Linked DNA regions of Homo sapiens: regions 1, 2, 3, 4, 6 and 7 are each linked to region 5. Evidence: promoter capture Hi-C in 16 types of primary human blood cells and fetal thymus (Javierre and others, 2016). All regions are on one chromosome and are shown on one strand. Each heading gives the region's core, a stretch centred on a gene start or on the middle of the fragment in contact. The rest is flanking DNA. Distances are from core to core; before and after follow the strand shown. Region 1 overlaps RAD23B (RAD23 nucleotide excision repair protein B). Region 2 holds the start of ZNF169 (zinc finger protein 169). Region 3 holds the start of ERCC6L2 (ERCC excision repair 6 like 2). Region 4 holds the start of FANCC (FA complementation group C). Region 5 holds the start of MRPL50 (mitochondrial ribosomal protein L50). Region 6 holds the start of RAD23B (RAD23 nucleotide excision repair protein B). Region 7 holds the start of MIRLET7A1HG (miRlet-7a-1/let-7f-1/let-7d cluster host gene).

What was found. The method cuts DNA at HindIII sites, captures the fragments that hold promoters and counts their contacts. A CHiCAGO score of 5 or more calls a contact.
Region 1: a contact is called between a fragment that was not itself captured here and the fragment with the promoter of MRPL50 in region 5, in 4 of 17 cell types (naive CD8 T cells, total CD4 T cells, activated CD4 T cells and 1 more). The highest score is 7.3, in naive CD8 T cells.
Region 2: a contact is called between the fragment with the promoter of ZNF169 here and the fragment with the promoter of MRPL50 in region 5, in 2 of 17 cell types (monocytes and fetal thymus). The highest score is 9.7, in monocytes.
Region 3: the fragment with the promoter of ERCC6L2 here is called in contact with the fragment with the promoter of MRPL50 in region 5 in 1 of 17 cell types (total B cells); the score reaches 8.5 in total B cells.
Region 4: a contact is called between the fragment with the promoter of FANCC here and the fragment with the promoter of MRPL50 in region 5, in 2 of 17 cell types (total B cells and naive B cells). The highest score is 12.7, in total B cells.
Region 6: the fragment with the promoter of RAD23B here is called in contact with the fragment with the promoter of MRPL50 in region 5 in 5 of 17 cell types (activated CD4 T cells, total CD4 T cells, non-activated CD4 T cells and 2 more); the score reaches 12.7 in activated CD4 T cells.
Region 7: a fragment that was not itself captured here is called in contact with the fragment with the promoter of MRPL50 in region 5 in 1 of 17 cell types (naive B cells); the score reaches 8.0 in naive B cells.

Annotation. Positions count from the first base shown.
Region 1 is chr9:107,298,200-107,301,658 of GRCh38, reverse strand. RAD23B (RAD23 nucleotide excision repair protein B) reads right to left here. Exons shown (of 10, transcript NM_002874.5): 2 at 1,437-1,518. Among named protein-coding and RNA genes, the nearest start is that of RAD23B, 17 kb to the right of the region's middle. The HindIII fragment of the contact is 654 bases long and covers 1,853-2,506 here.
Region 2 is chr9:94,257,142-94,260,750 of GRCh38, reverse strand. ZNF169 (zinc finger protein 169) reads right to left here and starts at 1,453. Exons shown (of 5, transcript NM_194320.4): 1 at 1,406-1,453. It overlaps LINC02603 (long intergenic non-protein coding RNA 2603), which reads left to right and starts at 1,440. Exons shown (of 3, transcript NR_160773.1): 1 at 1,440-1,640. RefSeq lists enhancers at 1-641, 971-1,100, 642-1,288, 1,131-1,450, 1,289-1,934. The HindIII fragment of the contact is 11,618 bases long and covers 1-3,609 here.
Region 3 is chr9:95,874,353-95,878,056 of GRCh38, reverse strand. It overlaps ERCC6L2 (ERCC excision repair 6 like 2), which reads right to left and starts at 2,366. Exons shown (of 19, transcript NM_020207.7): 1 at 1,973-2,366. The coding sequence starts at 2,018. ERCC6L2-AS1 (ERCC6L2 antisense RNA 1) reads left to right here and starts at 2,080. Exons shown (of 3, transcript NR_023390.1): 1 at 2,080-2,192. RefSeq lists enhancers at 2,156-2,215, 2,276-2,505, 1,637-2,511, 2,646-2,745, 2,786-2,835 and 1 more. The HindIII fragment of the contact is 4,005 bases long and covers 476-3,704 here.
Region 4 is chr9:95,315,690-95,319,244 of GRCh38, reverse strand. FANCC (FA complementation group C) reads left to right here and starts at 1,536. Exons shown (of 15, transcript NM_000136.3): 1 at 1,536-1,719. RefSeq lists a silencer at 1,865-2,184. The HindIII fragment of the contact is 1,904 bases long and covers 977-2,880 here.
Region 5 is chr9:101,396,213-101,399,995 of GRCh38, reverse strand. MRPL50 (mitochondrial ribosomal protein L50) reads left to right here and starts at 1,378. Exons shown (of 2, transcript NM_019051.3): 1 at 1,378-1,495. The coding sequence starts at 1,404. It overlaps ZNF189 (zinc finger protein 189), which reads right to left and starts at 1,145. Exons shown (of 3, transcript NM_003452.4): 1 at 807-1,145; 2 at 1-112. The coding sequence starts at 839. RefSeq lists enhancers at 1,145-1,674, 1,207-1,735, 1,736-2,265. The HindIII fragment of the contact is 1,128 bases long and covers 376-1,503 here.
Region 6 is chr9:107,281,261-107,284,691 of GRCh38, reverse strand. It overlaps RAD23B (RAD23 nucleotide excision repair protein B), which reads right to left and starts at 1,413. Exons shown (of 10, transcript NM_002874.5): 1 at 997-1,413. The coding sequence starts at 1,062. RefSeq lists a silencer at 875-1,434 and an enhancer at 1,925-2,084. The HindIII fragment of the contact is 9,258 bases long and covers 1-3,431 here.
Region 7 is chr9:94,164,084-94,167,895 of GRCh38, reverse strand. MIRLET7A1HG (miRlet-7a-1/let-7f-1/let-7d cluster host gene) reads right to left here and starts at 1,638. Exons shown (of 5, transcript NR_170278.1): 1 at 1,515-1,638. RefSeq lists silencers at 914-983, 1,214-2,013 and an enhancer at 1,709-2,273. The HindIII fragment of the contact is 4,683 bases long and covers 1-3,812 here.

The DNA of each region.
Region 1 (3,459 bases), core at 930-3,429, 5.9 Mb before region 5:
GGCTGAGGCAGGAGGATCACCTGAGCTCAGGAGTTCAAGGATACAGCGAGTATAATCACACCACTGCACTCCAGCTTGGGTGACAGAGCAAGACCCTCTCTCAAACAAATAAAACTAAAAAGCATAAGCATTTGACTAAAAGATGTCAAACTTATATAGTGTATATAGAATGACAATCAATTTTTACAAATGTATTGATTATATAAAAGACTTACTGGGCAAGGAAATATGAAAGAGGCCCTGAAAAGGAGGAGATCATGAAGATAAAGAAAATTCAATACTCCGATTGCACAGGGGTCCTCTGGAAAATAACCTATATTCTTTTATGATATGAAGAAAGGGAGAGAAACAAATTTCCTGCTCCCCAAAATACTGATATCTGATAAATCAGAAATGTTCTAACACTATCAAAGCAAGATACTAAAAGTACTTCAGAAAACGACATGATACACAAGAAAGGGCAAGATGCTACAGAACTTAGAAATGCACGAAGTACACAAAACTGTGGTCGTGCTGAAGGTCACTATTAGGTAGCTAGGACTCTCTAGTGTTTCTTGCTACATGAATTTAGTTTTCCACCTTTAAAAAGCTATTGAATCAAAAGCTGCTAACATTAAGTCAGAAAGGAATATGGATAGGAATGAGAAAACAGGCCAAAACAAGAAACTGGAAATTTGAATTTTATGTCCGCTTCTTTAGGCTTCTGAATTCTGACCTATAAAAATAATGGGACTGAATCACCAGGTTAGCATTTCCTCCAGGCTGTCTCACTTTAGGAAACACTATTCAGAAAAAGAGAAGAATCCATGGGTGATCAAACACCCACCTTACTAACATCTACAATGAAAGCATTTTCTCTAAAAATTTGGATATCAAATGTATTTTTAATATACATTTTCCTGGTTATTAGTGAGGCTAGTCAAATGTATAATTCCTACTCTTATCCTTTGTTGCTTTATTGGTCATCCTTTCCTTACTGATTTCTAAGAATTCTTTACATAATCTGAATATTAATTTTTTTTCTTCCTGTAGGTGTCTGTGTGATGTGTTTTTTCTGTACTCTTCAGTTAGTTTTGGTTAAAATAATTTTACAGGAATGATTCCAAGCATACTAATAATAACACAATCAGTATAAATGGTTTCAATTCAATTTAAAAAAAAAAGCTCCGTTTGATTAAAAAAACAAAAGCCAGTTACACGATGCTTACAAAAGATAAAACAAAACTAATACCATTTGATGGAAAAATACACAGGGCAAATGTGAATAAAGAGAAGATTGAATATTAATATTAGATTCAAATGACTGCTCTTTCACTGCTTTTATTTGTACAATCATTTTTCTGACAATTTGAATATACTACAATATATAAGATAACATTTCTAAAACTAAAAGAATATCAAGACATGGCATGTTAATTTTAATATTTAATTCATACCTGCATAAATTAATTTTTGACCTGCTACTGGAAAGGCATCTTTCCCCTTTTCAGATTCAATCTTCTCTTTCAGTGCTTTCACCTATAGGAAAAATAAAGATTTGTTTTGGAAAAAGTCTAAATAAAAAATGACAATCCAGAATCTGAATAAATAATGGAAGACAAAAATTATATACATAATTATTAATGTTTCCAAAACCTCAAATATTATGTTTTTCCAATTTATATCAAAAAAGATTCAACATTAACTCATATTACTAGTTATGATAGCCATAAACTTTAACACCATCTGATACACACAGATTTTTAAAAATTTACTAGTTGAACTGATAATTTAAAATAAAGTTTTCAACATCAAAGTTTTGGTTTATATACTGTTCATGGGTTTATTTCCCACGGAGCAAGAAAGTAAAGCTTGATCACCTAAAAAATCTAAGAAATAAAACAGTCTCATCAACAATAAGAATACTTCAATGTTAAAGGTTAAATTGTGAATGTTAAAAGGCAAATGATTCATTTTAAGTGTTATGTTTCATTACAATCACCAGGGGGACTTTACAAACACCAATTAAAACATAATCTCTGAGAGTGGGACCTTGACATCAGTATTTTTAAAAAGTTTTACAGGTGTTTCCAAAGTTCAGCCCAGGCTGAAAACCTCCAGACAACTTCAATGCTCTTAAACAAGCAGCTTAGCTTCTCTCAGCATCAGCTTCATTCATCTGTAAGAGGAGCTGGAATCCATGACCTTTATAGTCTCTTCATTTCCTAAAATTGTGTGACAATTAGGCTCATTATACAGTATTTACAAAAATGAGTCTAATGAACTTCTTAACTTGTTAAGTAGGGAGGTACAGGAGTAAAAAAGGCAGAGATGGCTTTCCCATTTGCCTTTATAGAACTACTTTCATTACTTTAAAGGCACAAAAACCAAGGAGAAAAATTCAATACTTCTTGAAAATTATCTAAGTTGACAGTTCTCTTGAGTTTTAGACAGAAAGGGATACAAATAAAGGTTTCTTTTGTACAATTAAAAAGTGATGGTGTGTACTTCAAAGATAAAAAAAGCTTATTTAGCTTCAGATGTTAACATACAATTTCACACAATCCTCAAAACTCTGGGACAAAAGGAAATGTCACCCACTCAATTTTATAGATGAGGAGACGGAAATAAAGAGGTTACCACCCCTTATGACTCCAAGCAGAGTATTTTGCAAATACCATATAAACCTTCCTTGCTGCACTGATCTTCCTGAAATGGGTCAGTAGCATCACTGCTATTCTGATGTTCCCCAAAGTAGAAATCCATCACAAAAATCTCAATCCACTATTTTCCACTGTTCCCCATTTCAAAGGTAAAACACAAGTAAAATTTTTTTAAAGCCAAACATCAGATTTGCAAAAAAAAAAGTAAAACAGTGTCAGTCTTTTCAGTGCTTTGGTGTTACTGTTGTTTTGGCAGATAGTTATTTTTTGCAAAAAAAGTAAGTATAATATTTATTATAATAAGTTTATATTTATTTTTAAATGAACATTAATAAAGTTTGTTTTAATTTCTAATGTGGTAAACATTAATAAATGTAAGTACATTGGGTCAGGCGCAGTGGCTGATGCCTGTAATCCCAGCACTTTGGGAGGCTGCAGTGGGAGGATCACCTGAGGCCAGGAGTTCGAGGTCAGCCTGGCTAACATGGTAAAACCCTGTCTCTACTAAAAATGCAAAAAAAAAAAAAAAAAAAAAAAAAAAATTAGCCAAGCATGGCGGTAAATGCCTGTAATCCCAGCTACTTGGGAGGACGAGGTACAAGAATCATTTGAAAAGTGGAGGTTGCAGTGGGCCAAGATCATACCACTGCACTCCAGCCTGGGTGACAGAGTGAGAATCTGCCTTAAAAAATAAATAAATAAAATAAAACGTAAGCATATCGACAAAAGTTATTTTGGAGCCCTCAATAACTTATTTAAATGTAAACAAGTCTTGAAACCAAGTCATTTGAAGACTGCTATCCTACATGCTAAGAGA
Region 2 (3,609 bases), core at 204-2,703, 7.1 Mb after region 5:
CAACAGCCCCCTGAGGCTTGAGAAAAATGTTCCTTGGCCCTATGGGCACCATTCTGCTTGTTGCAACCCATGCTCCCGGAAGGGTCCCCAAGTCCGAGGGAGCCACACAGCTGCAGAAGCCGACAATCTGGATACAAGCACGCCCCCATGCAACCCACAACCCAGGGATGTCTAACTCCAGGCAAGCCCTTCTCAACTCACCAACTTGGGTCCCCAGGCCCCAAGGCTACTGACCCGAGTCGCACGGCCCTAGCCGTCCCCCCCCCCACTATCAAGACCAAGTCTGGATGTCTACCCACAAACAATCCTCCCCCACAAACCCGGGTCCTAGTGGCCAAGCTGCACCATCACCACCACAGTGCACCAGCCATCCACAAGAGCCCTAATAACTGGACTGAGGTTGGGCACGGTGGCTCACGCCTGTAATCCCAGTACTTTGGGAGGCCGAGGCGGGGGGATTACTTGAGGTCAGGAGTTCGAGACCAGCCTTGCCAACATGGTGAAACCCCGTCTCTACTAAAACACAAAATATTAGCCGGGCGTGGTGGCGTGCGCCTGTAGTCCCAGCTACTCGGGAGCCTGAGGCAGGGGAATCACGCCACTGCACTCCAGCCTGGGCGACAAGAGCGAAACTCTGTCTCAAAAAAACAAAACAAAACAAAAACCAAAAAATTAGCCGGGCGTGGTGGCGGGTGCCTGTAATCCCAGCTGCTCGGGAGGCTGACGCGGGAGCATGGCTTGAACCCGGCGGCTGGGGTGGGGCGCGGAGATTGCAGTGAACCGAGATTGCGCCACTGCACTCCAGCCTGGGCGACAGAGAGAGACTCTGTTTCAAAAATAAATAAATAAATAAATAAAATTTAATAAATAAACAAATAAACAACCCGACTGATGCCCAAGCCGCGTGCCTCCCACTAATGGGGAAGTTTGCTCCAACCGAGGATATCATGTCCTCCAAAGGCACATTTGCTGGCCCAGAGACCTCCGAGGCGCGATGGTGGGGAGGGGATGGCGGGATACTAGTGGCAGGATGCTGTCTGGGTACCCCAGGCAGAGCCCACTCAGCGGCCCCCGAAGTACCGGGGACGCACCTGCGAAGTAGCTCGGGAAGTCGGTCCCAGGCCTGCACTGGCCCCTCCAGGTCAACATACTGGGCCCAAAGTCCCGCCAGAAGCACGCGACAACGCCAACGCCCCCTCCCCACCAGAGGACCTCCGCCAAGACCTCTCTCCGGGGTGGACCACGCACGCCCAGACCCCACAGCCGAAACTCAAAACACCAAGGAACATGTGGCCACGACATGGACTGCCCATGCCAGCTTTCCCGACCTTCCTTCCAGTGGAAGGCCCGCGAAAGCGGGGACCACCTCCGGGCTAGCTCACCAGAACTGTGAAAGGACACTCACCACGCACCAGGCGACGATGCCGGAACGCGGAAGTACGCGAGCCGGACTGCCCCTGGGCACGGAACTACACTACCCAGACTGCCACGGGGCGCGCAACTACCCTACCGTGGATGCCCTGGAGCGAGGGACTACAACATCCAGAATGCTGCGAGGGGCGGGACCGCAGCATCCAGGAGAAATTGTGAAAAATCAGAAAGTAAAATCTAACTTTCGGGTCTATGAGAAGGGTGGTCAGGTGAGCAGTAAGTCTTCTTTAACTTTTTATACGGTCCTTCTAATTTTTTTTTTTTTTAAAAAGATGTTACATGTCCTCCATCCTGCAAATTCACACCTGTGATTGTACACCCCTGAACTTTATCTACTTACTTATTTTTTGAGAAGGGGTCTTGCTCTGTCGGCCAGGCTGCAGTACAATGGTGTGATCATAGCTCACTGCAGCCTCAAACCCCTGGCCAAGCAATCCTCTCACCTCAACTTTCTGAGTAGCTGGGAATACAGGTGCATAGCACCACACCGGGCTAATTTTTTGTTTTGTTTTTTAGAATCTGGGTCTCGCGGCCGGGCGCGGTGGCTCACGCCTGTAATCCCAGCACTTTGGGAGGCTGAGGCGGGCGGATCAGAGGTCAGGAGTTCGAGAGCAGCCTGGCCAATGTGGTAAAATCCCGTCTCTACTAAAAATACAAAAATTACCTGGGCGTCGTGATGGGCGCCTGTAGTCCCGGCTACTCAGGAGGGTGAGGCAGGAGAATCACTTTGAACTCGGGAGGTGGAGGTTGCAGTGAGCCAAGATCGCACCACTGTACTCCAGCCTGGACAACAGAGTGAGATTCCTTCTCAAGGGGGAAAAAAAAAAAAAAGAATCTGGGTCTCGCTATGTTGACCAGGCTGGTCTGGAACTCCTGGCCTCAAGCAATTTTCCCACTTCAGGCTCCCAAAGTGCTGGGATTACAGGCGTGAGCCGTCCTTGTGGCCCAGGCTGCCTTTCGAGTTTATTTAGGGCCCTCTAGCCAGAGGTGGTGAGATTGGCAGTAACTCAAATTCCAACTGCTGGGATAGGTGATTCTCCTCGGGCTAAGGCTGGTGTAAATACTCCCTCCATGCGTGAGAATCAGCTGTGTTTGATCCAGTTTTGCTTTCTGGTATAACAGGGCAGCACTGAGTTCAATGCAATGTCTCATCATTGCTGTGCTTGCCGTCTCCCAAGAACATAGATTCTCTCTCCGCACCACAGAGCCACTGCTGGGGGATGGGTCAGGGGCATTGGTGATTCAAGACTGTCTTTCCTACCTTTTCAGTGCCTCTTTCAGTCATATGAAGTAAAAACCAGGTACTGCGAGTGCTTACCTGATTTTTGGTTCTTGTGAAGGTGCTTTTGTGTGTAAATAGTTGTTAACTTGTTTTTCTTACAAGGGGGAATGATCAGTGGAGCCTTCCATTCCACCATCTTGCTCCACCTCCCACCCCCATGTTTTAAATGACAGTGTGTATGAATGTACTTCTAAAAATGCCAAAAATACTGGGGTTTTTTTTCCTGTTATAAAGAAGAAGATTCTGAAGTTTTTTTTTTAATTCCAATTGATTACAAGAAGATAAGGAAAAACTAAACTTGAGGACATTTAACACTATAGCAATTAAAGTTATCTTACTAATGCAAAGATTGTTTATTAGATGTAACAGAATAATACGCTCAAAAACATACCAAAGTCTTTGCAAAATGAGTTATACTCTTTTTCTAAGAATTTGATAAAAAGTGGTATTTTTAAGTTACTTCCTATTTGCTTCTTCTCAAAATGAAGTAACAGGAACCAGATTTAGCCCTTCACCTTAATCAACATTTAAAAGGACAAAATATATGAAACATTTGAAGACATTTGACATCAGACAATGAAGAGCAGTGGAAATCATGGAGGTGAGCCTTTGAACTTCCCGCAGATGGAGAGAATTTCCAAGTCATAGCACAGAGAAGGGAAACTCAAGTGAAGCATGGAGTTCAACTTGAGGAGATGGAACTGGGAATCTGAGGAGGCATATGCATCTAGAGTTCACAGGGCAGAGTACAGAAAGGGAGAGAGAGCGCCAGAGATGTGCAGAGAGTCCTCTTCCTCAGGTATTAGTTAAGTGCTGACCAGCATGTACATGTGAGGAAACTCCTCAAAATTAGGGGTAAAAAACACTAGAAAGGGTTAGAGGGCAATACTGTGAGC
Region 3 (3,704 bases), core at 1,117-3,616, 5.5 Mb after region 5:
TCCACCTATTTAGCGTAGGGTACCCATTATTCTCTATCTCATCATTTTATTGCCTCTGTAGCACTTATCATAACATTTAATTATCATGTCCACTGGTTTTTTGTCTTTTCCTTCCAGTAGAGAGTAATTTCCTTTCCAAGAAAAGTTTGTACTGTTATAAATTTTATCCCCAGGACCAACACAGAGTCACACAGCAGACATTCAGTGAACATGCGAATTTATTACACATTCTTTTTTTTTTCTTTTTTTTTTTAGACAAGAGTGTCTCTGTCGCCCAGTCTGGAGTGTCATGGCACAATTATAGCTCACTGTAAACTCCAACTCCTGAGCTCAGCCATCCTCCCGCCTCAGCCTCCTGAGTAGCTGGGACTACAGGTGTGCACCACCATGCCTGGCTAAATTTTTTATTTTTAGTAGAGACAGGGTCTCGCTTATGTTGTCCAGGCTGGCCTCAAACTATCCTCCCGCCTAAGCTTCCCCAAAGTACTGGGATTACAGGTGTGAGCCATGCGCCTGGCCTATTACAAATTATCAATCTCACAAATCCTTGATATCTTGCGAGAAAACTAAAAAGTACACCAACATATACATAACTGTAAAAACTGCATTGGAAGAAGAGTGCTATGAGAAGGGAGTATTGAGAAATGTAATTTAAAAGGGAAAGGGGTCTAAGAACTGTATCTCAGATAAGTGTACAGCATGTGCAAAAAAAAAAAAGCCTTAAGGGAATCACACAACTTATTGGAGTATTTTGGGTTTGAGTTCGGATAATTTCTAGGACGAAATAAATTCAGTTGAGTTAGAAATGGAATCTCTCAGTATCCAAACTACAGAACAACTGCTTAAATTGTTAAGATTTCCTGTTGGATTTAACAGGGAAATGGGTTAAGTGTCCTAAAATTTAATGAGTCGAAATCATTTGTTTTGGTTTAAACTAATTACCAACTCAACTCATTCTGGTGATAGGGTCTCTCTCTCCCTCTTTCACTCCAAAGGCCTCCTCAAGCATTCCTCAAGGGTGTTCCCACCTCGGGGCCCTGGAGCTTTCTGCTCCTTCCACCAATTTCCCTAAATACCAAGAGTGACTAGATTTATCAAAAGGAATGAGCCTCCCAGTCACAATATCCACTCGGCAGCTTCATCTATTTTTAGCTGCCAGTCTCCTATAGGTATTTATATGTTTGGTCCCTGAATTACAGCGTCATCAATTCCTAGACCTCAGAATTCAGGCTTGTAACTTGCCCTCTCTGAACTTTAGCTCTGAATTCATCTATTTAATGAGATCGATATCTTCCTCAAAGGAAAGCAAGTAAACAATCAGCATATTGCTGGGCTCAGGAAAATCACTCAATACCTGGTAGCTTTTGTTATACAGCACAATTATTAATGAAAACTACTCATTTGGGTGCCAGAAGGCATCCCAGGTGACTTGTGGTAGATAATCACACCTTCTTTAAACCTCCTATTTAAGGCAGAATATAATGCCCTGACTCAATAGGCAATAAAACTCAACTGAACTAAATATCTCAACCTTCATTTATCTACTTACAACAAACTTCTGCCATTCACTAACAACTGGGGCATACAAGAATAAAGAATGAAAATAACATTTACTGAGTGCTTAATATGGGCCACACGCGGGGTCACATAAATACTTTGCGTATTCCCCACGTCATTTAATAATCGCAAGAACCTAGTAATGAACCCAGTTTTACAGATGAGGAGCCTGCCCAAAGTTGCTCAGCAAGTAACTGTCAGAGGCAGCACTAGATCCCAGGGGCTGACTCCCGAGTCCAGGTTCTCAACACTGAATCGGAGATTTGGTTCCAGGCCTGGAGGGGTTCACAATCTGCAGCTGTCACTGAAGAGGATCTACAGGGCAAAACCCCAACCCGAAGGGCACCGGCAAGAACTGGTCCAACGCGACGCAGTACACAGGCCTCTGCGTAAGGGGCGAGCGCGGAGCTGGTACCTTTGCCTGAGGTTTCCGCGCGGGGCTGTGGCGCCGACGGATCCATCCGGCCAGGGGGAGGGGCCGAGCCCGGCTGCATGTAACACCCGGAAGGCGGCGGAGGACAGCAAGGTGGCTGGCCGGCAGGCCAATGGCGGCCAACGCCACTTCCGGCCGCCCTCCGAGCATCGCTCTTCGGCAACCCGAAGCCACAGGATGGAGGAGGGGGATCCCAGCAAAGGTAGCGACTAAGGGGACCCAAGCAGAACGGGAGGGCGACGTCCGGAGCGGCGGCAGAGCCAGGGGACGCTGTGTGAGGCTGGCAAAGCGGTGTTCACCTAGTTCTCTCGGGCTCCGCCGCCGCCGGAGGAGGACAGGAGGCCGGCAAGGCGACCCCCAAATCTTCCTAGGCTCTGACTTCCGTCTCCTAACCCCCGCAAATTCCAACCCGGTCTTGGAAAATCCCGCGAGAACGGGCTCCCGAATTGTCATTGGGATCTCGCGAGAACGAAATCTTCCTTTCTGTGGGCGGAGCAATCTTCCCGATGTCTCTTCCCTCTGAGGCCAGTAGCAGGAAGGGCCTCGGGAGTTGCGAGTGTCGCGAGGTTTGAGGTCGCTCGGTGGGCCGGGCGCTGTGCGAAGCTAGAAATAACTGGGGGCATGGAGAATGCGGTGGCTGTAAAGGGCCGCTGAGGCGGTGGAGGCCTGGCAGAGAGCGTCCCCGCGGTCGCGGCTTCTGGCTTCTCTGTGGAGCTTGGTTCTTCCGTGGTGGTGCAGCACCCCAGGAACTTCAGGAACCAGTCCTTCCTTGGAGAGCTCCCCGGGACAGCCACGGGGGCCAAGTGAAACTAGCGCGTTTTCTTGGATCCTACACTTTATAGTGAGTCATAAATACTTTAAATACAAAGCCAACAACATTTGCTGCAAATAAACGTAAAAATACTGTTAAAGTGTAAAGTGTTTTCCTCCGTACCATCTGACGTTTCTGGCGGTTCGTTGAACGCGAGAGAACGCTGAGCCGTCTGCACTGAGCCCGGGAGCATCTTCAGGGCAGCGCCGCCCACGCGCGAGGTGAATGAAGGACACGGCCTCTTGACACTCCCAGGCAGCACAGATAGACGGATCCGTAAGTGGCTCCCGCGCATGTTAAAATTTGTATACTGTAAGGTATTTCATGGATTGAGTGAAATACCTGACAGGGCCTGTATCCGTTCCCTATTGCCACAATAACCAAAAACCACAAACTTTGTAGCTTGAAACAGCACAAATTTATCATCTGACAGACAATGCATTTATTATCTCACGGTTCTGTAGATCAGAAGTGCTACCTGGGTGTCACCCGGGCTGCACTCCTTTCTGGTGACTCCACAGGACAATCCTTAGCTTGCCTTTGCCAGCTTCTGTCCACATTCCTTGGCTTTGGTCCCTTCCTCCATCTTCAAAGCCAGTGATATGCCATCTCTCTGAACCTTCCATCCTCAAGTCTACCGCTGATTGCAGCTGGAAAAGATTCTGAGGGCTCACCTGAGTAATCCAGGATCATCTTCCCATTTCCAGGTCTCTGCCCTTGATCACATCAGCAGAATCCTTTTGCCATGTAAGCTAATATATTCACGAATTCCGGAAATTAGGAGATAAACATCTTTGGGGGATCATTATTCTGCCTACAGTAGTGTCTTAAGAAAACAATATGGCTGTTTGCAAATAGATCTCAATTCTATGGCAGATACTAAAAACTAGTAGTATGTGTTCA
Region 4 (3,555 bases), core at 287-2,786, 6.1 Mb after region 5:
TGGCATGGAATAGTTTCGAGAATGGATGTAAACACCGAATTCCTTAATGTAGTTGCAGATTCTGCCAGTTTTGTCTCAACCTCTGGATCGGTTCCTTTTTTTAACTACCTTTAATTCTTAAACAGATTGTTGCTATTGCTATGCTATATACTTATTGTATCACTTATAAATGTATAACCTCTGCAAATTAGTCTCTGAATTGAAAGTATTCATTGGTAAAACGGGTATTTCTTCACCATAGGAATAGTTGGACATGTTTAAATACTTGAGAGCTATTTTTATTACAAGCACACACAGCTTTGTGGTGTTTTTTGTTGAGACAGAGTCTCGCTCTGTTGCCCAGGCTGGAGTGCAGTAGTGCGATCTTGGCTTACTGCAACCTTCGCCTCCTGGGTTCAAGCAATTCTCCTGCCTCAGCCTCCTAAGTAGCCGGGAGTACACACTAATTTTTGTATTTTTAGTAGAGACGGGTTTTTGCCATGTTGGCCAGGCTGGTCTCAAACTCTTGACCTCAGGTGATCCACCCGCCTCAGCTTCCCAAAGTGCTGGGATTAGAGGTGTGAGCCACCGCGCCCGGCCTGTAGTGTGTTTTTGAACGTATATGTGAAGTTGTAGCTTTTTTTTTTTTTTTTTTGAGACGGAGTCTCCCTCTGTCGCCAGGCTGGAGTGCAGTGGCGCGATCTCGGCTCACTGCAACCTCTGACTCCCTGGTTCAAGCTATTCTGCCTCAGCCTCCAGAGTAGCTGAGATTACAGGCGCCCGCCACCGCGCCCGGTTAAACGTTTTGTATTTTTAGTAGAGACGGCGTTTCACCATGTTGGCCAGAATGGTCTCGATCTTCTGACCTCGTGATCCGCCCGCCTTGGCCTTCCAAAGTGCTGGGATTACAGGCCTGAGACACAGCGCCCGACCTAAGCTGTAGTTTTATGATTATGATTTATGGTTGTGAGGCATTGATTTAAGACATTTTAAAGCTTAAGTCGTCAGATCCTAGAAGAAAAAAAAATTCACCAAGACAAGCTAATGCCATTGTCATAAATGGGAGTTTGGAGAAAATTTTATTAATATTTGTTTGGGTGGTTTATGTACAGCGTTGAACTGATTTGAACCCCGACCAAACACTGTATGGAACTAATGTACGGTAGGGGAAATCATTAACTGAAGATGCCTTTTTTGTTGCTATTGTTTAGAACGCAGTTAGAAAATCTTATTTTAGAGGTTTTACCCCGTTGACAAAGCCTCAACTTTTCTTCAAAAGAACTAATTTCCATTTTACCTCCCCTACATTTTGAACAGAATATGGAAGAAGCCAGCGCCCCTTCTCCGCGGGCGCTGCTGCAACCCTGCTCCCGCCGGGGCTTCCGCGCGAAACCGGGAACACTGGAGCAGTACCGACTCCGCTCGCCTAGAACCCGCCCCAGCCGGGCCCACTTCCGCCAGAGCCCTGGCCGCGCCCGCCCCGCCCCACGGACCCGAGATTCGTCGGAATTTTCCCGCGACGCCGCGGGAGCGCGCGGGGCCGCTAGCCAGGCCCCAGAATGCACTGCTGACACGTGTGCGCGCGCGCGGCTCCACTGCCGGGCGACCGCGGGAAAATTCCAAAAAAACTCAAAAAGCCAATACGAGGCAAAGCCAAATTTTCAAGCCACAGATCCCGGGCGGTGGCTTCCTTTCCGCCACTGCCCAAACTGCTGAAGCAGCTCCCGCGAGGACCACCCGGTAAGCGGCAGGCCGCAGAACGCAGCGAGGGCGGAGGCTTCCCTCGGGGGTCTGGCCGACACGTCAGCGGCGAGAGCGGGAGGAGGAGGCGAGGGGCAAGAGGGAAGGCTCGCGAGAGCGGGTGGGCCAGGCGCGCCTTGCGGTGGGCGAGAGGGGTTCCCGCCGGCGCAGGGCTGTGGCTAAGGCTGAGGCGGGAGGCGGGAGGCGGGAGGCGGAAGGTGGCGGGCGGTGCCAGCCCGCGGGGCGGGGCCAGGGCGGGGAAAGCGGGGGCGGGAGCCGGCGCTGGGGTCGCGCGGAAGGGAGCCCCCGGAGAGGCGGGAGCCGGGTGTTGGCGTTTTGGTTCTTTTTGTTCATTGAGCGCAGGCAGCTATGTCTTCTTCAAAGGAGAGGAGCAAAGGTGAATTTCTCTGCCTCGGACTCGTGGGAGCCGTGAAAAGCTCGCCCCTTTGAGCCGGTCGCCCTCTACAGCTGGCCTCGTCCTCCCCGTCCCTCACACCCCTGCCCCCAAACCCCATTCGCCGGGGCGCCAGGAGGGGCGAGGTCCAATTAGAGGAGCCCGGGGCGCGGCTGTTACCCCTCCCGCCCTCCGCCTTTTATTCCCGGAGGGAGGCGGGTTCGCAGAGGCCAGTGTCTTCCCTCCATTCTTTTTGTGGACGCCAGGCCATATCTTCAAAGCCCGTGAGAGATTTTTCAGGTGCTGTTTGTTGGTTTGCTCTTTTTAATTTTTTAGGTGGGTGCGTTTACAACTACGAACCCTCTATGATCTTATGTGTCCAGCGCACCGAATGGGGGAAAAGACTTGGAGTTTTATAACATGGGAAATTGGGTACCAGAATCTTAAGGGAAGAGACCAAGGAGTTTTCTAGCAAAGTCCTGTATGTGCCTGGACTTTTGTTCTAATCTGAAACTTGGAAAACTCCCGGGCATCTGATTTTATTCTAACTTGTGCCCCATTTAATGCATCTAAACTGTGATGTGATTTGACTTAGCATTTATCAAATGAGCAGAGCACTTTTGGGCCACCCAACTTCAGCTCTTTGTGGCTGTCACTCACTGTCAGTGATATGCCCTCAGACAGATCGTTTTCTCCTTACTCCCCTGAAAGGTTGTTACAAACAGTAGAATTCATACCATGTGTTGAGATCATTCATTACCTAAGCTTAGATGGAAAACATGTTCATTGCGACTTTATACATTAAACTTGAATTGATGTTTCAATGTTATGTGCTGTACCAGAGTCACCTGGAAATAAGCACTCATATACATTATTCATATACAAGAAAGGCTGCATCGAAAAAGAATTTGTTTTCCTAGATATATCAGAGATCTTTTTCACCAACCCACTACTCCCAGTAATAGAGCCTGCTTCTTGAGAACTGGACTAATTATACTTTGTATATTATACATTCGAATTTATTTTTGCTTTATTCGGTCATATTTTCTCTTGATTTCTCCAAAAACGTTTACCAAGGCATCAGAAAAGAAAAGCAGGCTCTATATTGGTATTTTTTGTTTTGTCCTCTAATAAAAAGCATTAACTTGATTGATTGGCTGGTTGTGGAAGATGTGTTGCTGCATGTATGTGCAACTGTGCATGTACATTTTAAAACAAATGGTACTTTTAACCAGTTCCATATTTCAGCAGGTAGTTCCAATAACAATTATACAAATTTCGTGTTTATGAGAACCAGCTACAGGGAGGCCAGCCTGGCCAGTAGAAAGTTGGATTGATTATCTGGGCCATGGAGAGAGCCAGAGGAAACTCACATGAGTGGTAGTTCCAAGTTGGTAGTGTTAGGGCCTCAAATCGGGCTGGAAATGAGCACCAAATGATTT
Region 5 (3,783 bases), core at 129-2,628:
TTCCATAATTCTCCATCATGACATCTTTATACAGGCTTCTCTGAGCTGGGTCCAGATAATCCCACTCCTCCTGGGTAAAAAACACAGCCACATCCTCAAATGTCAGCAACCCCTGAAATAGTATGATTTCTGTAGTCAGTTCCTGTTGTCTCAAGGACAATTCTACCACTAAAAGTGACAGAGGCAATCACTTATTGTGGCCAAGTAGGCTAGGAGGAACATGATAACTGAAAGTTCCATATGTTGCCCAATTCTGGGAACGAACTGTAACTGACAGACATCTCAGACTAGAAAGGACCTACGGATAAGGCTTTTCTGATTTATTATGCCCTGAGAGTTTAATTTTAGTAAACTGCCCCAAGGCCTCTCCAAGCTTCCCTCACCTCATTGCCTACTTCAATTTTCCATTTGCACTGGCTTGTGACTCTATTCAATTCAATTCCTTGAGGTTCTCTAAGCGTGTACCTTGGGGTCCAGGCACTGTGCCAGGAACAGAAGACACAAGGGAAGGTCAAAAATGGTGCTTCACCTGGAGAACTCACAAATGAGAGAGCTAGTCTGGAGCATTACTTATTTTCTCAGGCCGATTTATCAAGTCTCTCTAGAAAAAGAAAAAAAAAAAGGGAGCCAGTGGGCAGTTTGTTCGCGAACCGCACCCCAATGCACTAGTGGGGAGTTCCTTGCAAGGCGCTGGCCCTAAAGAGGCGGTCAGGAGGTTGGTGGGGGGCCTGGGGGAGAAAGCAGTGGTGCGGCCTAGCTGGGGTAGCGGCGAGACAACCGGGATCCCCGGGGGGGTGCTTACTTACCTTCGACTCCGGCGGGGGGCTCGGGGAAGCCATCTCCCAGGCAGAGAATAGGGGCAGGAATTGGGGGCGGCCTCACGGAAAGGAGCCTCTGGTGAGGCCTACCCGGCTGCTGGAAATTAGGCTCGACGAATACGAGGATCCCTGGCTGGGTCTGGCCAGTGCCTGCCTCGGCCCCCAGACGGTCACGACCCCAACAGCATATCAGACGCGATCCCTGGCTGTCCCCCAACCCCGAACCCCAACCCCTACTCCTGCCTGGTTACGCAGCCTTTCAGGCCTCGCTAGAGCCTCCTCCCCGCTGCCAGTTCCTCCTCCTTGCAGCCAAGTAACGCTATGACCGCCCGCCCCCGGACCAGAAGGCGTCACCCAGATTCTTCCCGAGGCCCCCTCAACTACAACTCCCGTCATGCTCGGAAAGAGCGCCGCGGTCCAGACGCCGCCAGCAACAGCTACTGGACTACATTTCCCAGCGTGCAAAGGGCGAGGGAGCCTACAGGAAAAAGAAAGCTCTTGCCACTGGGATTGTATCCGATTGGCTGGTCTGGGCGCGTCACTGCTGGCTGAAGGCTGCGCTCAGGCCCGTGGATCTCATCGAAGATGGCGGCGCGATCTGTGTCGGGCATTACCAGAAGAGTCTTCATGTGGACAGTCTCAGGGACACCATGTAGAGAATTTTGGTCTCGATTCAGGTAAAGCTTTATGGTGGACGGTGGGTCATGTTCAAGGAAAGTTAAGGAGGATTAGGGACGAATTCAAAATAGAGTGTTACGCCATCGTGGTCCCGCGCCTGATCAGAGCAAGGACAAGGAGGTCCGGTTAGGGTCCCGAGTTGAGAAGCACTCATTGAGTGGTGGGACCCAGTCTCTTCCACTCTCGGCCTTAGTTTTCTCATTTTATAACGGAAATACCACCCCCTTTCCTTTTCACTTCACTCATTCATTTATTTATTAAGCAAGCAGGATTAACCTCGTGTGCGAGACACCGAGTGTGTTGTCTGCAAACACATGAAAGCGCTTGGTAAACTAAACTCATTTGCCGGCTGTGTTTCTTCACAAGCAAGGTTCAGTAATGAAGTACTGCCTCCTCCTTTTGTTTGTTCATTCATTCAGTCATTCAACAGATTTCTTAGGGCCAGCATTACTCTAAGCGCCTAGGATACAGCAGGAAAAACAAAATCCATTCTCATCCTCGAGGTACTCCAACATATGAGGAAACAGGCCCACAGGAGGGAAGTGATTTTCCCAAAGTCACAAAGCAAGTTAATTGCAAAGCTGGATCTAGAACATATGTCTCCTAACTCCCCATCTACTGCTTTTTCTGCTGCACGGCTGCACCATGTGTAATTGTTTGAAGGTAAATCTAATTTGACTTAGATAGTGTTTAGGAAATCAAAACGTATGGTAGGAACCCTAGGGAGCAATGTATGCTCTCTTAGGTTTAAAACAAAAACCACTACAATTAGGAAAGATCTTTTTCATCAGTTCAGATATTAGCTTTCCCTCTTCTTTGGTCAATATTTGTTATTATCTCTCAAATCTCTTCCAAGTTTGTTTTATTCATTCACTCAACAAATATTTTTTAGGCTGTTTACTATATGCCAGGCTATATCTTAGGTGTTGTAAGAATACAGTGGTTACTAAAACAGACCAAATTTTTGTTCTCGTAGGGCATATGTTCTAATGGAGGAAGAAATGAACAAATGTGTAATGTAATTTCAGAAAGTGGTAAATTATGAAGAAAACTAGAGGAAATAGATTACTGAGAATGATGATTATATTTTCTTTACTATTTTAAAAATTTTATATATTTAAGATATACAACTTGATGTTGATTATTAGTCAAGATAATTATCATATTCATCTCTTCACATACTTTCTGTTTTGTTTTGTTTTAGAGAAAGGAGTTCTCACTATGTTGCACAGGCTGGTCTTGAACTCCTGGACTCAAGTAATTTTCCCACCTTGGCCTCCCAAATTGCTGGGATTCCAGGGGTGAGCCACCACACCTGGCCAGTTAGAATTTTTGTGTGTGTGGTGAAAACACTTAAGATTTACTCTCAGAAGATTTCAAGTATACAGTACAGTATTATTAATGATCGTCACCATGGTGTACATTAGATCTCTGGAACTTATTCATTCTACATAATTTAAATTTTACCTTTGTCCAACGTCTCTTCATTTCCGCCACCCCTGGTAGCCACCATCCTACTCTCTGTTTCTATGAATTTGACTTTTTTTTTGTTTGTGTTGGAGATGGAGTCTCACTCTGTCTCCAGGCTGGAGTGCAGTGGCGCTATCTTGGCTCACTGCAACCTCCGCCTCCCAGGTTCAAGCGATTCTCCTGCCTCAGCCTCCCGAGTAGCTGGGACTACAGGTGCCCGCCACCACGCCCGGCTAATTTTTTTATTTTTAGTAGAGACAGGGTTTCTCCATGTTGGCCAGAATGGTCTCGATCTCTTGACCTCATGATCCACCTACCTCAGCCTCCCAAAGTGCTGGGATTACAGGCGTGAGCCACTAAACCCGGCCTAATTTGACTTTTTAGATACTACATATAAGTGAGATCATGTGGTATTACTCTGTCTGGCTTATTTCTCTTAGCATAATATTTTCCAGGTTCATCCATGTGTTACAAATATCCTTTTTTAAGGCTGAATAAAATGCCATTTTTTGTGTGTGTATATATGCAAGCACATAATATATACATATATTCATACATAGGTACACATATACATATAGACACACTTATGGCATTTTATTCAGCCTTAAATATTGTGTATGTGTGTGTATACATGTATACATTTACATGTATACACACATGCTGCAATGAAGATGAGAGTGCAGATGTCTCTTTGAGATACTGCTTTCATTTCCTTTGGATATATACCGAGTAGTAAGATTGCTAGATCTTAGGATAGTTAGGATAGTTCTGTTTATAACTTTTGAGGAAGCTTAATACTGTTTTTTATAATGGCTAT
Region 6 (3,431 bases), core at 164-2,663, 5.9 Mb before region 5:
AATCTTGGCGGTGTATTTCCGAACATAAGCAGTAAATTTACACTCACAGCGTTTTTAGATTCTTGGCATAAAGTTGTACTGACCTCAACAGTGTCTCTTTATGCAGTCACAAATACAGAAAAATGTATAATGTGGACTTCTGAAATGTTTAAGGCTTTAACTGCAGAAAGGATTCAAAGTTGTTGTTTTTTGTTTTTTTTTTCTTTTTTCCCCCTTGAACTGCTACTGTTTGGGGCATCGGGGGAGGGTGGCTGCAGCGTTCCAACTCCTACAATTCCAAGATTTCTAACACAGAAAACCCGTTAAATCTGAAGTTTAGTTTGAGCCTGGATGGCTGTGAAGAGCTCTAACAGCTAAAACCATCACCAAAGAGGCCTCAAAGTGCAATCTACGCAAGGGTGTGGGTTTGGTGGCGGGAGGAAGGCAGCAGAACGATTCATTTGCAAATAAAAGGGTAAACAATTCTGAGGGGAAAGGGGCAAATTCATTTTCACCACCACTCACCTCTCGGCGGCAAACGGAACCTGATACTTTTTTTTTTCTTAAGGCTCATCTTCTCGGGTTACCAACTCTGGGAACTAAGCGGCTAACCAGGTCCACACAGGGGTAGTGGCGACGCCTACGTCTCCCTCCCCCACCTGTGCACCCATACCAGAAAGCCAGGCTCTACGGCTGAGACGGCCTGGACCTTCCCATCCCCCTCCGGCCCCGCTAGCACGAGCTCCTAGGCCCAGGCCCGCGGGCGTGCGCTCCACGCCATCTGCCACCAGGCCTTCGGCGTCCGGCCACTGCTTCCCCATTCTCCTGCCACAAAGCCCACGGCCAAGACAGGAGGATCGGCTCCGCTGTACGCCGCCAGGGCCGGCACCAGGACCCAGGGCCCTCATCGCGCCCTCCGGGGCTTCCCCCGCTGGAGCGCGCCGCCCGGCCCCACGAGCTCCTGGCGCTCCCCGCGGCCCGCACGCGGCTGCCCCTGCCCCCGGCCCGCGCGCATACCGTCTCCTCGGGGTCAATGTCTATCTTGAAGGTCTGCTGCTGGAGGGTCTTCAGGGTGACCTGCATGGTGCCGCCGCGCAGCTCGGCTGCCGGGCCTGCGCCGGGTGCTGGCCGCTGGGCGGGGTCTGTGGCCTGGCGGGGCCCCGGGGTCGCCCGCGCTCCTCGCGCTCTGGGGAGGAAGGCGGTGGGGGTGGGGGCTTGTCACATTCGCCCAGCGGAGCGGCCTCTCCCCCAGCCCGTGCCCCGGACCGCGCCGCTGCCTCCGCGACTGCGGCCTTCCCCGCGAACTCGGGCCGCCGTGCTTCCTCACGCGCCGAGCGCCAGCCACGGAGTCTGCAGAAGGCGCGAGGGGGTCGGCGAGACAAGCAGGGAATCCGCTAGCTCACCACAGGATGGTGGCCGCCATCATCGTGACTCGCCGAGACGTGCCCCCTCCCCCACGCGAAAAACCTGGGGGGATGGGGCCGGGCGGGCGAAGCGCGCAGGCGTGGGGTGCGGCGACGCTTTGCGCCGGCGCGGCCGAGGACTCCGCCCCAGAATTGGGGGCGGGGCGGAAGGCGGTCCTGGAATGTCGGCGGCCTGGACCCGGATTACGCAGGCGCGTTCCGTGGGCGGCAAGGGCTCCTGGGGCTTCCTCCTAGCGACTATTGCTGGGGCGTTCTCTCCGGCTGCCGCGGCTCCGCCTCTGTGCAGGCTCCGCCCGGCTGCCGAAGTTACGCAATGTGTAGCCCGGGAAGCGCTTCGTGGAGACCCGGCAGAGTGGATGCGGAGCCCTGGAGCGGGGGAGTAATCGGGGCGGAGTTTAAGTGAAAGGATGGCGGTAACCACAGTCTGGGGGCCAGCACCCGCGGGGCGCTTGCTGCGGGGCTCAGCCCTGGGGGTGTCGACTGATTCTTTAATCCCGACAGCACAGACTCCTGAGCTGGACTGCCCGAGTTCAAATATTGTTTTTTCTCACTAGCCTAAACAGATGGACCGATTTAAAATGAAGGTCAAGTTCTGTCACACCTCGGGGTAGAACTGTCCAGTGTTTCCCCATCTAGCCCCGAGTTAAAGTCAGAGTTATTAGAACGGATGCATTAGCCCCTCGCCTTTCTCCGAGTCGCCTTACTCTCCCCACTGGTGGATTCTAGGTTGCCCCCGGCTCCCTTAACATCCTTGCTCAGATATTGCCTTCTTGGTGAGGTCTGTTCTGGCTGCCTTACTTAAAATCCCAACTTCCTATCTCTGTTATCCTGCTCTGTTTTCTTGTATAGCGGGTATCCCTTTATAATTACCCTGTAATGTACGTATCTCTTGTTTATCATCTTTCTCCTTTTCCTGTGAACCCCAGACTGAAGCTGCACAGAGGCAAAGATTTTGCTGTGTTCACCCATGAACATGCCTGGCACATTGCAGGTGCACGGTAAATATTTGTGGAATGGGTGAATGTGCTTCTGGATCCTCAGCAGTAGAATGAGAATAATAATGTCACTCATTGATTATTGGAGGGGGAAGTTGAATATTGTATGTAAAATCATGATAAACAGTCTGTAAGCAGTTAGCTATTAGTAGAAAGTCCGTTTACAGATAGAAAACTGAAGTACAGAGATGTTGAGTAATGCACCTGGAATAACCCAGCCAGTAGTAAATGGCAAATCCACAATGTGACCTCAGACAGAATGACTCCAGAGTCTGTGTCCCAGGGTGTGCCACTATTCCCCTGTTTTTTGTTTTAAAGATTATTCTTATTTTTTTAAAGCGTCTGACTGTCATCCACGCTGGAGCGCTGTAGCACAAACACGGCTCACTGCAGCGTCAACCTCCTGAGCTCAAGAGATCCTTCCACCTCAGCCTCTTGAGTAGCTGGGACCACAGACACACACCACTGCTTCCCAGCTGATATTTTATTTTTTTGTACAGATATGTTCTCCCTATGTTGCCAGGGCTGGTCTTGAACTCCTGGGCTCAAGTAATCCTCCTGCTTCGGAGTCCCAAAGTGCTGGGATTATATGTGAGCCATCGCTCCCAGCTATTCTCCTCTGTTTTATACTGTGCCTGTGGCACATTTGATTTAGTTCAAGTATAAAACACAGTTCTAGTCAGGCCACTAGCTCTATGACCAATTACAAATTACTTCTCTGGGACAGCATCCTCACTAATACAATGTCACTGCTTGGTTTTCAGTGGCTTCAAGGAGCTTGGGTTTAATGTTTTCAAGAAACTTTCCTTGACCAGCTTCTCCCTCCACTAACCTGATATTTCCCCTTTCACAACACATAACTCCCTTCATAGTAATTAAATATGCAATCTTCTGCCCTCTGTCTTCCTGTATCTACTCGTAGTCACCAGGTGGTTTCATCTTGGCCCTTGTTTTGAAATACCTCCAGCCTGGACCTTTCCCCTTAGCTATAGAGTTAGCCAATTGCCTAAGCAATATCTTCACCTGAATATGT
Region 7 (3,812 bases), core at 345-2,844, 7.2 Mb after region 5:
AAAAAAGTTAACTTTTCCCCTCACACTGTAATTGCACCTAAGTGATAAATTTTAAAATGCTATATAATACCACTGAATTTACAGGACGTCAAGAAATTTGTCTATTCTCAAAGTTGAAGTTTCAAAGTAAACTTTTAACAAATATGTATAATGAATCAAACATTCTCACAAAACCCAAAGTAACTTCCAAGTTTTTACTTCCCTAACTACACATACTTCCCGAATATACAGTAAATAAAACCAGACCCCGCCAAACACCAAAAGAATTCTGGATATAAACAATTATTTCCTAAACTACACATAAATTTGGAATTTGACATTCAATGTTCTTATACTTCAGGCCAACAGAAATAAATGCAAAGGAATGCCACATGATGCTTTAACTTTAGGAACTGTATGCCAAGAAAGCAGTATTATCAATGAAGTTAAAAAGCAAAACTCAACCAGTCTCCTGATTTACCTCAAAATTTTAACATTCACTGTCTTCCCTGCCTTTTTCCTGTCTGCCCGCCCTCTCGTTAGTCAATTTTTTAAAAACCGGTAAGTTGAAGAATACATACCATTACCTCTGACACAGAATCTACTGTAAAAAGTTGAAAGACCGAAGGGCATTACTGGCCAAGGACATACAGGTTACCACATTCCTCACACTAGAGCCCGCCCGGGAAGTTTATTAGCAAGCCTTCTGAGAGGCACTCGGTTCCAAGAGTTTGCAGCGTCGACTCAAAAGGCCAGCGCTGTTTCCGGTGACACCGAGTCGCAAATCTCCAAGCCCCGTCCCCCGGGATACGATTTCCTCCCGCTCCCGCGTTCCCCTCCCCCTCGCCAAGGACGGCTGCCGCAGCGGACCTCCAGCCGCAGCAGCTGCTTCAGGAAGGGAGGCTGCACTTGGCCGCGGGGAGCAGGGGCATGCAGCCAGCCACGACTCTCCCGCCCTCCCCGCCCGCGCCTTCCCGCCCTGTCCCCCCGCCCCTCGCACTTCCTACCTTCCCTCCTTCATCCCAACCCCCAAGGCCAAGGTCTCCCCGGCCCACAAACTTGATAGCGGAAGTGACGTCAGAGGCACCTGGCGGCGCCTACAACCAGTCACGCCACAGTCAGAGGCGGCGCCGGCCAACAGGCGCCGGCCGGAAGGCGGGCCTTCCGCCCGCCCCAAGTTTGATTGAAGCGGGGGGAAGGGCGGGGTAAGGAATGTGAAGAATGACCCCCCCTCCCCCGCCCTGTCGGTGAGGAGCTGGGCGGGAAGCGGAGGGGGTTGGAGCCGGCCCCGCGGCGGCCACGCGGCACCCCTCCCCCGTGCCCCGAGCGCCCGCGACTTCCGCTAGCAGCCCGCCGGCCCCCCGGGGCCACCCGCCCGCTGGAGGGGGCAGGCCGCCCCACCAGTCCCAGCCCGCGTTAGCCGGACAGGCGCGGGCCGGCGCACGGCTCTCCCATTCTGCCCACCCGCTGCCGCGAGTCTCCGCGAAATAAAATGGCGACGGACCCGCGCTCGCTGCCGCGTCCGCCATACCCACCTCGCGCTCGCGGAGAGGGCCGTCGCGGCCGTGGGAATGCCCCGGCCCTCGCGCCCGTCGCTGCCGGGAGAGCACCGCGCCAGGACCCGGATGGAGGCGCGGGCGGGCGCCGCCGCGGCGGCCTGAGGGAAAGCAGCGCGGTCGCCGGGAGGCCGATGCAGGGGCGGGCGCCGCGGAAAGCGCGCAAGCCCATTGGTGAAGCCGTCTGATTGAAGTGCGCGTCGCTCTTTCGCCTTGGCCTAGCTGAGCTCGTCCGTCCCCTCACTGGAGGGCGGCGGCTGGGCCCGCCTCGCGCGGGGTGGCCACCGTGGGGGAGGCGGGTCTGGCCCGCCCACCAATACCATCTCCTTCTTTCCTAGTGGAGGGCTGAGAGAGTGGCGGGGGTGGTGTCCTCCAGGCCCTGCCCTTTGCGCGTGATGGGCTGGCTGTGTCACGTGGCCGCTGAACGCGCTGCCCGCGGGGCGGGGCGGCTGCTTTGCTCCCTCAGGCTCCTGGGGGCAATTTACACGTGCGCGACCCGGAAGGTCCGAACGCTGTCCAGCGTGCAGCCTCTGGCTCTTTTCCGTCAACTGACCCTGTTCCCTCCAGGAGGCCTTGGCCAGGCCTCCTGGAGTTCTGTGCCTCAGTTTGCTCATCTGTCAAATGGAGGAGTTGTGTCCGCCCAACCTTTTACTTTTATTCCTTGACGTTTTGGGGTCTGAGGGTTTTTTTGTTGTTTGTTTTTTCGAGACACGGTCTCTCGCTCTTTCTCCAGGGCTGGAGTGCAGTGGCGTGGGTCACGGCTCACTGTAGCCTCGACATCCGGACTCTAGAGATCCTCCCACCTCAGCCTCCCTGAGCTTTTTTTTGTTATCTTTTCCAACCCATGTTTTGAAGATTTTTGTCTTCAAATGTTTTTCAAAGCAATCCTTGATTTTGTTGTTTTAAAATTAATCCAAAGCCCAGTTCCTCCATCCCCATTACAACTTTCACATGCTAGGACTCTGAAATCACTAGTTAAGGTGTCGTTTGAGGTCTCTGCCAGTTTTAAGATTTTATGGCTGGGAACCGCAAGACCTGGGCTGTAGCTCTGCTTTTTGTAATTCATTGTGACTTTGTGCAACACTTTTAAAAAAGTGGGTCCTTGTCTGTAATAGAACTATGGGAAATAGTACTTGACATGCTGTACGTTTACATTTATGATCTTAGGTGGTGGTATCAGCTCCCCTTTTAGCACTCATATTAGTGTATGCAATAAGTGCCAAAGGAGTTTGTTTCGTTTTGTTTTTAATGGGGACTTTATTTTGTGAGCTAAAGTGAACAAGAAACTAGAGGGGGGGAAACTTGAGCTTAAGCCATGGGTAGGATTTGGGGAGGACTTCTTGAGGTTAGAAGATATATTGAGAAAGGAGAGAGCAGGCCCCAGAGCTAGATCGAGTACAGTTCAGGGGAAGAGTGTGGTTATGCTGCAGGGGATGTGGAACTCTTCAAGGGCAGAAACTGTTTTGTTCCTGTCTATGCCAAGTACCTAGCACAGCAGTAGGGTAGGATTAAATGATATCTAATAATGATGAAGTAGGCTGAGGTGGGAAGAAAGCATTAGCAAATAAACCAGGATATTGTTGGATATCAGAGTTAAGAGGTACTGTGAGCCTCAATTAGAGGTTGGTAGTAGAGGCTGGTGGGCCAGTGTGTTTTAGAAGAAATAAGAAGCCTTATAGCACTATGAGCCCTTCTGACATTTTCTTCATATGTTCATCGGAAACTTCTTGGTGAGTTTGCAAAAGTGCATATGACATACATTACCCTTTACCTTCCTATCTGTGCTTCATTTTTTACCCTTGAAGGTCAACTAAATGACGCTAAAGTAGAATCCATTTGGAAAATGTTAATGGATTTGACAATATAAATGAAAACTGAATTTTAAAAACTTTGAAGTTAAAAGACAAAAATTGGAAATATTGTAAAAGTCTAAAAAAATCTCTAAGAGACAAAACATTAATTTGAATGTCCAGTGGTTAAAAGCAAGGATCTGGAACCAGACTACTAAGTGTGAATCCCAGTTCTGCCTCTTCCTAGCTGTACAACTATGTACCGGGCAAATTGTATATCTTTTCTGTGCCTCAGTTTCTTCATCTATAAAATAGGGATAACAATACTTACCTTACAGGCTGTTGAAAAGATTAATATAAACATCTTAAGAACTAAGAACAGTGCTTGGTACACATAAGTACTACATAAGCATTTGCTAATATGTTATCCTTAATAAAGTGGATTTTTTTTTTCAAATCAATAGGATAAAGTGAACACTCCTATTAA